Linked DNA regions of Homo sapiens: region 2 is linked to region 1. Evidence: promoter capture Hi-C in 16 types of primary human blood cells and fetal thymus (Javierre and others, 2016). All regions are on one chromosome and are shown on one strand. Each heading gives the region's core, a stretch centred on a gene start or on the middle of the fragment in contact. The rest is flanking DNA. Distances are from core to core; before and after follow the strand shown.

Region 1 (7,456 bases), core at 1,443-3,942:
AGTGCACGCTGGTTGTGCAATATCAACCAGGATTAGGCAGGTGTGGGAGCCACAGAAGCCACTCCACCACACTTTTAAGTCATTTCATTAGAGTCGCCTCAGAAGTCCTGGTGAGACAATCCTAGGAGTCCTCTTTGGCTGTCTTGCTTGATATTCTCAAGCAAGTCCATTCTGCTAGACGCCTGCATCTGGGTACTCCTCCCTTTTTAACTCCAGTCCCCACAGGGTCATTTAAGAAAATGTATGCATGTTTCTGATTCATAACTATATTATGATGATTATTCTTATAAACCCTTTTGACGTCTAAAAGCCTTAGAGCCACTCAACAGTCCTGTTTGGGCCAGTCTCCTGGAATATGAGAAAAGATGAAGAATGGGAGTGTTATGGAGGGCATACGCCCCTCTGATCATCACCACAAAGAGTGGAGCCCTTCATGGTCCCAGCTGAAAGCCTGGAGAGGCTGCGCGCGGTGGCTCACGCCTGTAATCCCAACGCTTTGAGAGGCCAAGGCAGGTGGATCACTTGAGCGCAGGAATTCAAGACCAGCCTGGGCAACATGGCAAAACCCCATCTCTACAAAAAGTACAAAAATTAACCGGGCGTGGTGGTGGGTGCCTGTAGTCCCAGATACTCCGGAGGCTGACGCAGGAGAATCGCTTGAACCTGGGAGGCGCAGGTTGCAGTGAGCCGACATCTCGCCACTGCACTCCAGCCTGGGGGACAGAATGAGACTCCAACTCAAAAAAAGAAAAAAAGAAAAAGAAAGCCTGGGGATATTTACCAGGACCCTTCCTCCTTTTCAGGCCCTAGATTCTAAGATCCTGCTTTGCAGATCTGAAGTGGGACCCAGGAATCTTTAACAAGCTCTAAGCCTGCCGAGTGCCTGCGATTGCAGGCACGCGCCGCCACGCCTGACTGGTTTTGGTGGAGACGGGGTTTCGCTGTGTTGGCCGGGTCTCCAGCCCCTAACCGCGAGTGATCCGCCAGCCTTGGCCTCCCGAGGTGCCGGGATTGCAGACATACAGATATTCTTTTACTTGTTCTGGAGAAAATAGAATTTTAGAAATTCATAACAGCCATCTTTTTTAAAGTATCTGTTTATCTTGTAAATATACATATTCCTGTACATATTGTTTGAATTCCATTACAGACATTATTATGAATGGTTCATATATATTTTGATAATGACTTATATAATATCAAATCCACTTATAAACATAGTATTTGGGCAGAAATTGTCATGATGAATTAGATGATCTCTAAAGTTTTTTCTAGCTTTAATATGAGGTGATTCTAAGTAGCAGGTACAATGGACAATATGTGTGTGTGTGTATATATATATATATATATATATATATATTTAAAATGGACTCTATAGTTAGAAGCTATTTTTGCAGTTAATAAAAATACTCCATTGCAAATCAATTACTGCACTCATTTTCATGATGCAAACTGTAAGGTTTATTAGTAATAATAATAACCTCCATGGAAACAAAATAGAAAAAAAAAAACCAATTGAAAGAAAATTTTCACTGAATTTAAGAAATATCAACAAACTCTGTGTTCTTTTCTTTTAAAAACATTATTTCTGTTTCATTAAATTTCTAAAGTAACCTTTCAAAACAAACATTATTTCTACTTTAAAAATTAAAAACCACCAACAAACCACCGCCACAACAACATACTACTAAGGAAAAGCCTCAAAACATGCCTTAGCGCCGGATGAATACAGCAGTCCTCACTTATCTGAGGTTTTTCTTTCTGTGATTACAGTTACCCTTGGTCAACCTTGGTCCAAAAATATTAGATGAAAAATTCCAGAGATAAACAATTTGCAAGTTTTAGATTTGCAGTGTACTGAGTAGCTTGATGAAATCTCACACTATCCTGCTCTCTCTGGCCTGGAACATGAAACATCTCTTTGTATACCATATCCACACCATATGCATTACTGTCTTGGTTATCAGATTGACTATTGCAGTGCTTGTGTTCAAGTAACCCTTATTTACTTAATAAGGTCCCAAAGCGCAAGTGTTGTGATGGTAGCATATTGTTATAAAGGTTCTATTTTATTATTAGTGATTATGGTTAACCTCTGACTGTGTCTAATTTATAAATTAAACTTTATCACAGGTATGTATGTTCAGGAAAACAACATAGTATACACACAAGGTTCAGTTTTATCTATGGTTTTAGGCATCCAGTGGGGGTCCTGGAACATATCCCCCTTGGATAAGGGGCAACTACCGCACTCCTTTTCCAACTTGGGAGCCAGATCTTCAAACATAAAGTGCAAGGACTCATCATTTATTCTCTTTAGTTCTCCCTTCACTCAAAGGAAATTTAAAATTGCAAAATGAGTTCTCCATTCATGGTCTTATTTTAACAGTCTAGAATATCAGGCTCAAAATTGCGTGTTTACTCTGAATCTGTATTAGTGAAGATGACTGGTGGAAATCACTGAAAGAGAGAAGGATACGCTGTATTTAATTGTCTTTATAGTAGATAATTCAAAACCTTATGTACTTTGAACTATTTTACATTAACACAATAATACATAAACAGTGAATCACCATTCTTTCCCCTAAGGTAAAATTTTTAAAATTATATTATCAAAAGGACTACTTGTGGACTCACAGTTTGGATCTCTGTGCCTGGTGTCCTTGTTGAGTGGGTGAGAATCCCTGTCTACTGAACTCGTCTTGAACTTCAATAGGTTTAAGCTCAGATTTAAAATCTCCAGATATTGATGACCCTTGCAGAAATAGCTCTGAACAAGTAATAGGATTGACAGAATTAGCAAGGCCAGTTCATTAATAATAAGGCAAAACCAAACAAAGAGTAGTCAGTTTATATTTTACAGAACACATTGAATAGATGAGAGACAGAGGTCATTATTAGTACTATTTATCGCAATAACATGAGTTGTATTCATTAGTCCCATAATCATCTACTGAGCACCTACTTTGTGTGAAACAAGCAGTAGCTAGGCACTAGGGTACAAAGACAAATAAACCCTATTTCCTATATCGTGAGGCTTGCAGTCTAGTGGGGGAGACAGGTAAGTAAAAAGATAATCACAATGAAGTGCTATGATTACTACAACATTGGGAGGAATAAGAGAGATACTATGATTTTCATCTTCTCTTACTACAGGCTTTTAATACAATTTTTTCAGATGGGCTGTCTTTACAGATCTACTTGCTTTCTGGATTCTAGTTTTATTGGCATTTTCTCCTTTTCACTTCTCCTTATTGTTTCTGGTTTTTACCATTAAAAATTCCTTTCCTGCTGTTTTTTAATGGAGTTTTGAGATGTAGGGGAAGTAGATGCATGTGTTTAATCTTCCATCTTTTCCTAACATCTTTCATCCTCACAGCCAAATTCTCATCTAACTTTGCCAAAGTAGGAGATTTAATTTACTCTAAGCTTAAAACTGGAAATTTTTAATTAGCAAGAGGACAAAATTTTTAATATTAATGGCAATTAAAATGAACACATTTAGATTTTTAAATTATAAGGTTTAGTCATATGTAGCTTCACCCAGAAACTTTAAGTGGATCTTAATGCAATTTAAACAGTGATAGTGTCTAAATAAATTTTAATAGTTATGTTTTATTATACTAAATTAATTTGTCATTTATTTACTCTTTGTTAGTAAGAGGGAAACCTGTCACATTTCAGAACTTTGTTTGCTTATATATTTTTTATTGTAGAATTTGATTTCAAGAATAGAGAAGAGTACATAAAATTTACAATATTTAAGAGAGTCACAACCATAAATATTTTCAAAGAGATTCTTCCAGAAATCAAAGTATTTTCTAAATTAACTTTCATTTTCATCCTTAAATCAAATTTTTACCTCCCATTTAGCAGGTTTCATGTTCCAGTTTGTGTGCTATACATATGCTTTTCAACAGAGTTTCTCAGGGCAATTCACTTTCAGTTTTTATGAACTGAGTGTTTTCTCTCTAGCTAAAGAATCTAGAATGTAGTCAGGTGCAATACAAATGTAACTTAAAAGATGCCTTCTGATGGCAAATGTGAAGAAATTTAATATTTCAGTTTGATGATAAAAAATGTCATAGTGGTTTTAACATTCAAAAAATATGTTTTAAGTTACTGTCAAATATAGCTTGGTACTCATATGTTCAAATATGTAATATAGGCACAAGCATAGAGACTTAACGGTAAAAAAAAAATTACTATAGCAATTCCTATCCTACCCCCACCTTCCCAACACAGATATTTCCATAATTTGCTTTTTATTTTGTGCTATCTCTGGCACCTGTTCACTGGAGGGATTTGGGGTCATTACGGACATCACACACTTGCCTACAATTTGGACAAGCATATCTGATCTAATTGCTTCAATTATGAATTGAGTAATTTTTGTAGATCATGAAAACTTGTCAAGAGTCAAAGCCCAAAAGGTCATTATTTCACACATATGATTCTTGATTGATGTAAAAACATTTAAAAGTATTAGAATTATATGTTGATATAGTGTTTAGATTTTTATATATGATTTTACATCCAATTTTAAGAATACTAAATACTTTACAAGGCACAAACATTATAAACCAGCTGAAAATAATCTTAGAAAACAGAAATAAAAATATTAATAATTAGGACACTTTCTGAGTGCTCATCATGCCAGGTCAGGTACTAATTGTTTACTTCGCATAATCTTTACAACAATCCCCTGAGGTAGGTCAAGTATAATTTTATAGATGAGGAGACAGGCTTGGATAAGTTTTATAACTTATCTAACTGATGCATTTATTCCCCAATATTAGTGGAATGCCTACTGTGTGAAAGCACTCTTCTGTGGACAAGGTACTTCTATATACAGCAGCAAGAAAACAGTTTTTATGTTTCAAATGTTGACATTATGTCCATGCAGACCCCAGCGTTCGAATTCAGGTATGACTTAATTCCATGGTCCACACTGTTAACCAGTAAAGTCTCCTGTTTAGGGCAGATTAAATTACCTGCTCTAAAAAGATGAAATTACAGAATTTTCTTTAAATCCTAAACAGCCTTCAGTGTAGATTCTTCTGGTTCCAAGGCTGTCATATATATCTACTTGCTCTTTTTTTTTTTCTTTTTGAGCGTGAGAAAGTTAATTGTAAGGACAGAATTGAAAGAAAACCATGAATTCCTTAGGAGTTCAAGGACAGCTATACACTCTAGTCCTAGGAGAATGGAATGTCAGCTCAAAATCTTGGAGGATACAATGCTGGAGTAAACACCTTAGCAGCTGGGAGGGGTCTGTTGATCTTCCCAGTAGGGCTCAAATACCAAGATTGCGGCTTTCCATCCCACTAACCGCATGCACTGCCTGCCCCCAACCCTGCTCCTCCCGCCGTGGCTGATCTTCTGTCACTAGTTAATACTCTTCCTAAGGCCTTCCATATCACCTTTACTTTACAGCCTGTGCTTCCTCAATATATATTTTCTTATTTGTTCTGTTTTCCATAACCCCCCTCATGGCCTTGACTCTACTCAAGACACCTATCTATAGAAGTTTTTTAAGCCTCCCATCTATTGATAACAGCTTGGCTATTTCCATGTTTCCAAATGAGTATTCTGGGAGAATATGATTTGTTTAGCCGAAACCATTTTGCTTCATTATGCCATTGGCATAATTTGGCCAAGGTCACACCCTTGGTCTAATCAGCTTTAGCCAGATGGCAAGGTTATGTGATCTACATAGGGCTCCCTTTCAGTAGGGGCTGGGGAACTTTTAGTAATAAAGGGTGTAAATGAAGCAGGCGCTGTGGCAGACATCGTTTTTACTAAAAATAAACCTTTCCTTACTTTGAACTTGAAAACATGTCCCTCAGTCTTCAAATAGCAGAATTAAATTTAGAGCTGGAAGGGCATGTTTGGAAACAAGACCATACTGCTGAAAAGACTTACCAGAATGAGATAGTCCTGTAATTTCTTCTGTTTAGGATTTTATTTCCCTTTTCCAATATGCGTTCTACTCTTTCTTGTCTGAATTTTATTCTTCTTGGTTGAGAAGAGGAAAGCAAGGTAAGAATTCCAGTTTCTCTTTCTCTTAGCAATTTATTACTCATGTAAAGAGGAGACATATCTTCCTTCATTGTCTTCTTACTATATGCATAATTTTAAATCTTTTCAAACATATTTTTGAAACCTATTTTACTTTGGATTATAGTATTCTTAATTTTATTTTATCATATTTGATTGCATACCCTTTTTTCTACCTTTTTATAGTATCCTTTAACAAATCATATGGGCATTCACTGAGATGTTACACCATCAGCCACTTTATCTTTCTCCTTTCCTAAAAATATGTGGAGATAGTTATTGTCAGAATTTTATTATCTCCTGATGTTATTTATTTTAGAGAGTCTTTGGCAAAAGAATATATAACTTTTTTTTTTAAGAGAAGGGGTCTCATTATGTTACCCAGGCTGGCCTTGAACTGCTGGGGTCAAGTAACTCTCCTGCCTCAGCCTCCCAAGTGGCTGGGATTACAGGCACCTGCCTTCTGTAATGCTTATTGCCTTCTATATATCTGTAGCACTTATTCTTCTGTAGTCAGCCTTCCTTTTCTTTTATTTTCGTAGCTTAAGTCCCTTAGTTGTTTCCTTTTGAAGGTTTACAACACATCCTTGTTACCGGCTGGTTATTTTTTTGCTGGACAGAATTAACTCTGGAGTAGCAATTTAATGTTTTATCCTCCATCTTTTGAAAAATATTGTCAAAAGATGGAGGATAGAACATTATCCTCCATCGTCAAGAAATTTTTATTTGTACTGAAGGAAGCTTCCATGATAGTCCATTTGGTTTCACTAGATACAAAGGAATACCTGAGGCTGGGCAATTTATAAAGAAAAGAGGTTTATTTGGCTCATGGTTCTGCAAACTGCACAAGAAGCATGGCATCAGTAACTGCTTCTGGTGAGGCCTCAGGAAGCTTTTATTAATGTCAGAAGGCAAAGGGGAGCTTGTGTGTCACATGGTGAAAGTGGGGCAAGAGAGACAGGAGGGAGGTCCCAGACTTTTTAACAACCAGATCTCATGTGAACTCCTTACTGCTGGGAGGGCACCAAGCCATTCAGGAGGGATCTGCTCCCATGACCTAAACACCTCCCAGTAAGGCCCCACCTCCAACTTTGGGGATCATATTTCTTTCTTTTTCTTTTCTTTTCTTTCTTTCTTTCTTTTTCTTTCTTTCTTTTTTTTTTTTTTTTTTTGACAGACTCTTGCTCTGTCATCTAGGGTGGAGTGCAGTGGTGCAATCCCAGCTCACTGCAAACTCTGCCTCCCAGATTCAAGCAATTCTTCTGCCTAAGCCTCCCAAGTAGCTGGGATTACAGACCTGCACCACCATGCCTGGCTAATTTTTGCATTTTTAGTAGAGATGAGGTTTCACCTTTTTGACCAGGCTGTTCTCAAACTCCTGACCTCAAGTAATCTT
Region 2 (6,796 bases), core at 316-2,815, 530 kb after region 1:
GGGTGTGTGTAGAGATTCTGTACGTCTGTCACTGAGAGGATCTGGGAGCGGTGATACTCCCAATAGCAATGAGCACAGCTGGACACAGCAGTTGGCTTTCAAATCCCATCATATAACAACAGAAACCTAGGATCCTCAAGGAAGTGGCTGATTCTAGGTCGGACAGAACAAGTATAAAATGATGCTAGACCATTTTATTTTGCCACAGTACAGAAGTGCTCAAAGAATGATAAGGACATGTCAAAAAGACACATAAGCCAGCTTGAAGGGACACCTACTGGCTCTTTTTGGAAAAAATTAAACATTCAAATAAATAATGTTGGCAACAGATTATGATCCATTGAATAATATAGGAAACAATGACCTCATTTGATGTAAATAGATAAATAGATTAATAAGGAACCAGATATTTACATAATCTCAAAATACTTCCTCTTATAAAATACTTAATTACAAAGGGAAAAAAGTAACTTTGTAGTAGAGAAACCTGGCAGACTAAGTAATCAAAACTGGTGTTCTCAAAAGTGAGGCAAACCGAAATTGCCCCACTTGGTAGAATGCAAAGAGAATGTAGCATTGCTTCTGTGATAATCCTGCCATAGATGCAGCACCTGAATCTAATCACGAAGAAGTGACAGGCAAACTCAAATTGCAAGAAATGTCAAGTATAGCCATCTGTCATCTTCAAAATTGTAAAGATTAGGCAAGTCAAGGAAAGACAGAACTGTTCCAGACTGAAGAAGACTAAAGAAGCATGACAACTGAAAGCAACATGGGATTCTGACCTGAATTCTTCCATTCATGTTTCACCAACTGTTCCACTGACAGATAAAAGATGCCAGCAGAACAACTGGTGAAATATGAATGGGCTCTGAAGAGTTGGTCATAGTAATGTATCAATGCTAATATCCTGATGTGATGCTTATATTGTGGATAGGTAGCAGATTATCCTTATCTGTAGTAAGCACACATTAAACTATTCAGGGTGATGGAACTTCATGTTAGTAACTTATTCCTAAATGGCTCAGAGAAGAAAAACATCTCTCCTATCACATTTGCAACTTTTCTGTAAGCTCCACAGTGTTTCATACTGTTAAAAATTACTTAAAATTAGCAACAGAATTTCAGTTGGAGGATTCTCTGAACAAATTAAAGGAGTTTACATCAGTGGCTCCCATTTCATATCCATACTCTTTTAACTCTTTTTTCTACAGCTGATCAATGTAAATCCTACTATTTATATATTTAATAAAAACAAATAAAGAAAATAAATCACAAGCTAAAAATTCCACAGAGCTGCTTTCACCAAATAGTTTAAGGGTTAGAGTTTTGTGACATCCTAGTGATTTTTATATTTCTTCTATTACTGTACTACCAAATTAAAAATCCAATTAATTAACGCCACCTTTCGCTGTATAAGCATAAGAGCGAAACAAGGAATAGCCAATAATAAAAATGTGGCGAATAGAAGAGTTGCATTTTGGTTGAATTCTCTAAACACTACAGATCAGTAAGCATCTATTGTGTCTTATACATGTAAGATGCCACACTTGATTCTGGAGAGAAACTGTAGCAGGTACTGCTGTTGTTCTGTCCAGATCCCCTTTTCCTGGTCAGACACTCATCTCCAAGCTGCTGTGAGTATTGGCTGCTAAAAGTCTACAGCTGCATTCTTATTCTGAGAATTGTTCTCAGCTGATGAGATATGGTTGGTTTTGCCTTCCTCCTGAGGAAAGCTGCAACCAGTGACTAACTGATGAGGGGTTACAAAGAGCTCTGAATGCCTGTAATGTGTATTTATTATAAATAAGGATAATTCTGTGATGTTTTTCATGCTCAAGAGTTTTCCCTGGGATCAGGCTGAGATAAGACTTCAACTAAACCCATTTCTTTACTGAGGTTTTCTCCCTCTTTTATCTTTCTTCACTCCTCATCAGGTTCATCATCGCACACTCCTTCAACGTATTACATGAGAACCTTTATCTCAGTCTTTTTCTATAGAACCTGACCTAAGATAGATACCAAAATACATGAGACTTGATTCTTCTTTCAAAGAGTTTACAAACTGAGTCATTACAACTGGGGTAATTATGGGAAGTTTTCATGGAGAATTAGCTTTTAGGCTGAGTATTAAAAGATAAGTAGAAATTCAAATAGGATTTAGGAGGCAGGTGATTTCTCTCCTGGAGTGAGCTTATTACCTCCTTGTTGTGGATTCTATATTCTTCAATGCATTTTAATATTACTTTAGGATTTGTTTGGCATCCATCCACTGGCATACATTATATTCAAGAACTCTTAAAACCTCAAAATATTTTGGAAAGTAATTTAAAAATATATGTTGAAACAAGCTAACTCTAACCAGATGAAATTTAACAGGAACAAATGGAGAACCCTGTACTAGAATTCAATACACCAATAGTAAAGACGGAAAGAAGATGTAGAACATTAAAATTTTAAGGTAGGCATTGTCTAGAATGTCCAAGAAAAAAATGACTCCTAGAGGGCTAGCAACAATGTCTTAAATCCACTCAAAAAACTTTTATTAAGATTATGCTTTGTATTAGGCATTTATATGGGAACCATTTCACAGCACAGATGGTAGAGCTATTATAGTTGTCTTCAAATAGTCTCAGCTTGGAATGAAAAACATATCACGCAAGTTGCCACTCTCCCTTCCAGAATTCCTGGCAAATACAGCCACTGAATCATTTATTTTTCATTGATGAATCTGGATGTAGTTTTAGATTCCTGCTCAGCCATGTGCCCCACGTCAGTCATACCAATTGATTGGAATTGGCAGAAATAGAAAATCATGACTAGGTTTCTAGTGGAAGAGGAATAAGGCACTGCGTGAGTCCAAATAAGGAAGAGGTTTCTACCAACTAGATTGTTTAAAAATGAAATAAAATCCGTGATGCAAATAAATTTTTATCACTGTGGTTATTCACATATTCACAGAAGATGAGTTCGGGGGATTCATTTATTGGTGAGTAGTAGGGGCCAGTTTAGATGGTTCCATGGTACTTTATTACTCAGAGTATATAAGCTGTGGCACTGTTTCTATTTTAGATGAGGATTTTTGCTAATATATGATAATAAACCTATGGTGATATTTTAAATTGGATAACTAGTTGGAGAGGGAAATATTTTAGGGAAGATTCAATTATTGCTGTGCTAAAACTCATTATGTAAATTATTGTCTGAACCTCTTGAATATTTTGCCTGCTGCAAACAAAGCAGTTTTTAATAATAATCCCTTTTCCCCAGTGTTTTAGTGTGAGCTAATTTCCTCTTACTCTAAACTGAGTGAATACAAACACGATGGCAAATATGACTACATATGGAAAACACTATGAACATACCATGGCTAACATATAGTATGTTTAAACATACCATGGCTTACAAGGCCCTTCACATCCATTGCCTAGTCTACTTTTAGTCTGATTTCCTTTCATCACTTCCTCACTCACCCTAAACTTCAGCTACGCCTCTCATCATGCTCTGATCATTCATTGCATTGTGCCCTTTCACAATTCCTTTGTGCAATTTTTCTCTTCTGGTTTGTTCTGCTAGATCTAGTTGAAATATTATTTCTTCAGTGAAGTTTCAAGCTTCCCTCTGCAGAGTTAAGCATGACCCTTAGCTCTAAGTGTGCTCTAACCACTGTGTCTCTATACAGTGACAGCATTGATACTTTCAGAGGAAATCACAAACCCATCCCAGTCCTGGTTTCTGACTTTCATCAGCTAAGTTCTCATTCAATTAGTTCCTGGTTTAGTTATTAGCATTTGCATTGATCTACTTGCAGCAAAATGCTATACTAAACACTAAAGCATAAAAGGAAACAGTGATGATGTTCAACAGCTCCAAAAATCATGATGAGATGAGGTTAATGGAACAACCACATAATTATATTAAACATAGAAAAAAAAACTAGAAAAAGAAACAAGTCCCCAACAGAAGCCACATTAGAATAAATTCTAGGTTGAATGGAGTACAGGAGTCCAGAAGACTGTTCTTACAGGTCTCACTGAAGACTGAAGCAAGTTTCATCAACCTCCAATTTGGCCCCTATATTGTTATCAGAGTCTCCTTTCAAAAATGCAAATTGGATTGTCATTTACCTGCTCAGAAGCTCTTAATGGCTCTTCATTCACTGAAGGAAAATAGTCCAAACTCTAAAGAGACATATATTGCCTACTGCTATCTAGTTTCTACCGATTTCATTTATCATGAATTCCCTTCCCTCTCCCATTAAACTCATATCCCTCTTGCAATTTATATTCCAATTCACCACTCTACATTATTCTCTCTCATAATTACCTGCCTTTGTATTTGCTGGTGACTCCATCAGCAATGCCTTTCTCATCCCCATTCCACTGACTTAAAAACATGCCTCCAGTAATCTATAAAACACATATCCTTCTCTGGAGTCGTGGAAACATTACTTTCTCTATTACACTGCTCTCTCACTTTCTGAGGCTGACTGAGGAGTTCATTCCTAGAATAGAACCTGGCACGCAATCAGTGATAATTCTTTTTGAGTTGATTAAATGAGAGAAGAGTTTCAGAAAGTGTTTTAAATTGGCCTAGTGACATGCTTTTGACAGAAACAAAGAGGCTACTAGCCTCATCTGTTGCCATGGTATCATTCAAGTTTGTGGAGAGAGTAAAAGAGCAATCCTAATGGAGTCTGTTTTTGTTTGTTTGATTTTTTCAGCTTCCTCAATTCCTGCAATATGTGTTATTTCTGTTTTCCAGTATTCACTTAATCATCTTTAAGTAGCAAGAACCCAACACCCAAACAGATGACCAGCACACACACACACACACACACACACACACACACACACACCCCACAGTGGCCATGAAAGACTCTAGATGCAACATGCAGTCAGCCAACATGATCAGCTTCTGTGTCAATTGGGTCATTACTACAAATAGTGCCTGTGCTACTCTGCAGCTTTAAACCTACACTTCTCATAAAATGCAACATCATCAAGGTCTAATTTATCAAAATGAGTTATTGGCAACACAATGAATGTTCTCTTTGTGTGAATTATAGCAGCTTTTGTTAATTGCCTGAAATCTGCAAACCTGCAGGAAACATTTGCAATAAATTGATTTTTCCAGACATTGCCTCTGTAATAAATAAATCCTCCTGGTGATTAATAAGTACTCCTTTTGATTTTTGTCCTCTTTTAATTAAAAAACCTAAAGACAATCAAGAGAAATCTCAAAACCATATCTGCCAAAATATCATCGTAAGAACACAAACCAGAGCTGAGGCCCCAAAATTGTTTTGACGACAGCCTCCACTGTTGAGACCCTTTCTGTTGCAAATGATAAAACCAAGATTTAGATAAGGTAAGCAAATTAAAAAAAATAGAGCTTGTACAACTGAGAATGAGTCTAGTTTCAGGTTTACTTGGATCACAAATATGAAACATGTCATCAGTACCTTTCTATTCTTTTGAAATCTTTCTCAAGAGCTCCCTACAGTTGACAAAGATATGGCCACTAAAAAAGAAAAGTCCCCTGTTACATAATTCCTATGTCATTCCTTTAACTTGTGGGCCCAGAGAAAGACTCTTTCCTAGATTCTGCATATCAATGTTCAGGGCTGCACACTGAAGTGTAAGTTGAATTTACACACTTAGGATGTGGGTCAAGGTGGGGTTAGTGTTCGTGAGTACCTACTATTTGCCAGGTATTGTCCTAGGCAGTGGGAATAAAATGGGAGCAAGAAAAATGAAGCCTCTACTTCTGAGGTTTGCATTCTTTTGAGGAAGATGGGAAGTAAACTAGCCAACTGATGATCTCCAATACTACTGCTACTACAATAATAATAATAATAATAATTTTATATTGTAAGTGGACTTTGAAAAAAGAAGCAGGTTATGGAGTAAATAATTATGTGGAATTGCAATGGTGGTGTCAGTGGCTGTTTTAGGTGTTGAGGTCAAGAAAGGACTTCTTGAAAAGAGGTAACATCTGAGTAGCAACAGTACACAGCTCCATGGATTCTGTTGTGACTTCTTGTTTACCCTAGAGGAAAATCTAGAAGGACATTATTTGACTCTTGGGCTCTCAGGAATATACATTATAAGAAATTTTTCAGACATGTAGGGTTGGTTGTGTTAAAAGACAGTGTCAGACATAAGAAGCATGATTTTTCTCTTCCTGAAGATGTGGCACCTTAGGAAGATACTTAAGTTCTTTGGATTGAGCGATATAGAAATTCCAAGGTCCCTTTCAGCTAGAAAATTCAATGATTCTGAATTCAATCTCCAAGTAATTCATTTTCATATTTTTTTAACATTCAATAATGTCAGAATGAATGATGCAAGGAGGACAAAATTGAATTGCAGAATCATAATTTATATTAGCCAAATTATACAAGGACATTATAAATAACCTTATCTAAGACAGATAAAAGTTTTATTTTTTAATGACTTGTGTGTCAATATTTGTAAATGCTATTAAATAACTTTAAAAATGCCTAGTGACATCGAGTAATTATTATTTTCTAGCTTCAGGGCAATTTGTGATTAGATTAGATTAGCATTTTTTGATCAGTAAACAGCCTCTAAGTATAGTTGACATAACCTTGGCAGCCAGTGGAACAAATATTTAAAGAAAAACAATTCTAACAGTTTTCTATTTTGTTCCTGTTAGTACTGGTGCTATCTGATTTAGTGAGACCTAAAGAAATGCCTACAGAAATGTAACCTATGAGAAGCCCTTTCCCTTATTTATCAATCATGCTTACAAAAAAAAGATACTGATAACC

Evidence for each region. The method cuts DNA at HindIII sites, captures the fragments that hold promoters and counts their contacts. A CHiCAGO score of 5 or more calls a contact.
Region 2: a contact is called between a fragment that was not itself captured here and the fragment with the promoter of PDC in region 1, in 4 of 17 cell types (monocytes, total B cells, naive B cells and 1 more). The highest score is 6.9, in monocytes.

Annotation. Positions count from the first base shown.
Region 1 is chr1:186,458,422-186,465,877 of GRCh38, forward strand. PDC (phosducin) reads right to left here and starts at 2,693. Exons shown (of 4, transcript NM_002597.5): 1 at 2,638-2,693. All of the region lies in intron 3 of PDC-AS1 (PDC antisense RNA 1), which reads left to right. The HindIII fragment of the contact is 3,468 bases long and covers 1-3,427 here.
Region 2 is chr1:186,991,503-186,998,298 of GRCh38, forward strand. No RefSeq gene overlaps it. Among named protein-coding and RNA genes, the nearest start is that of LINC01036, 98 kb to the right of the region's middle. The HindIII fragment of the contact is 4,093 bases long and covers 1-3,612 here.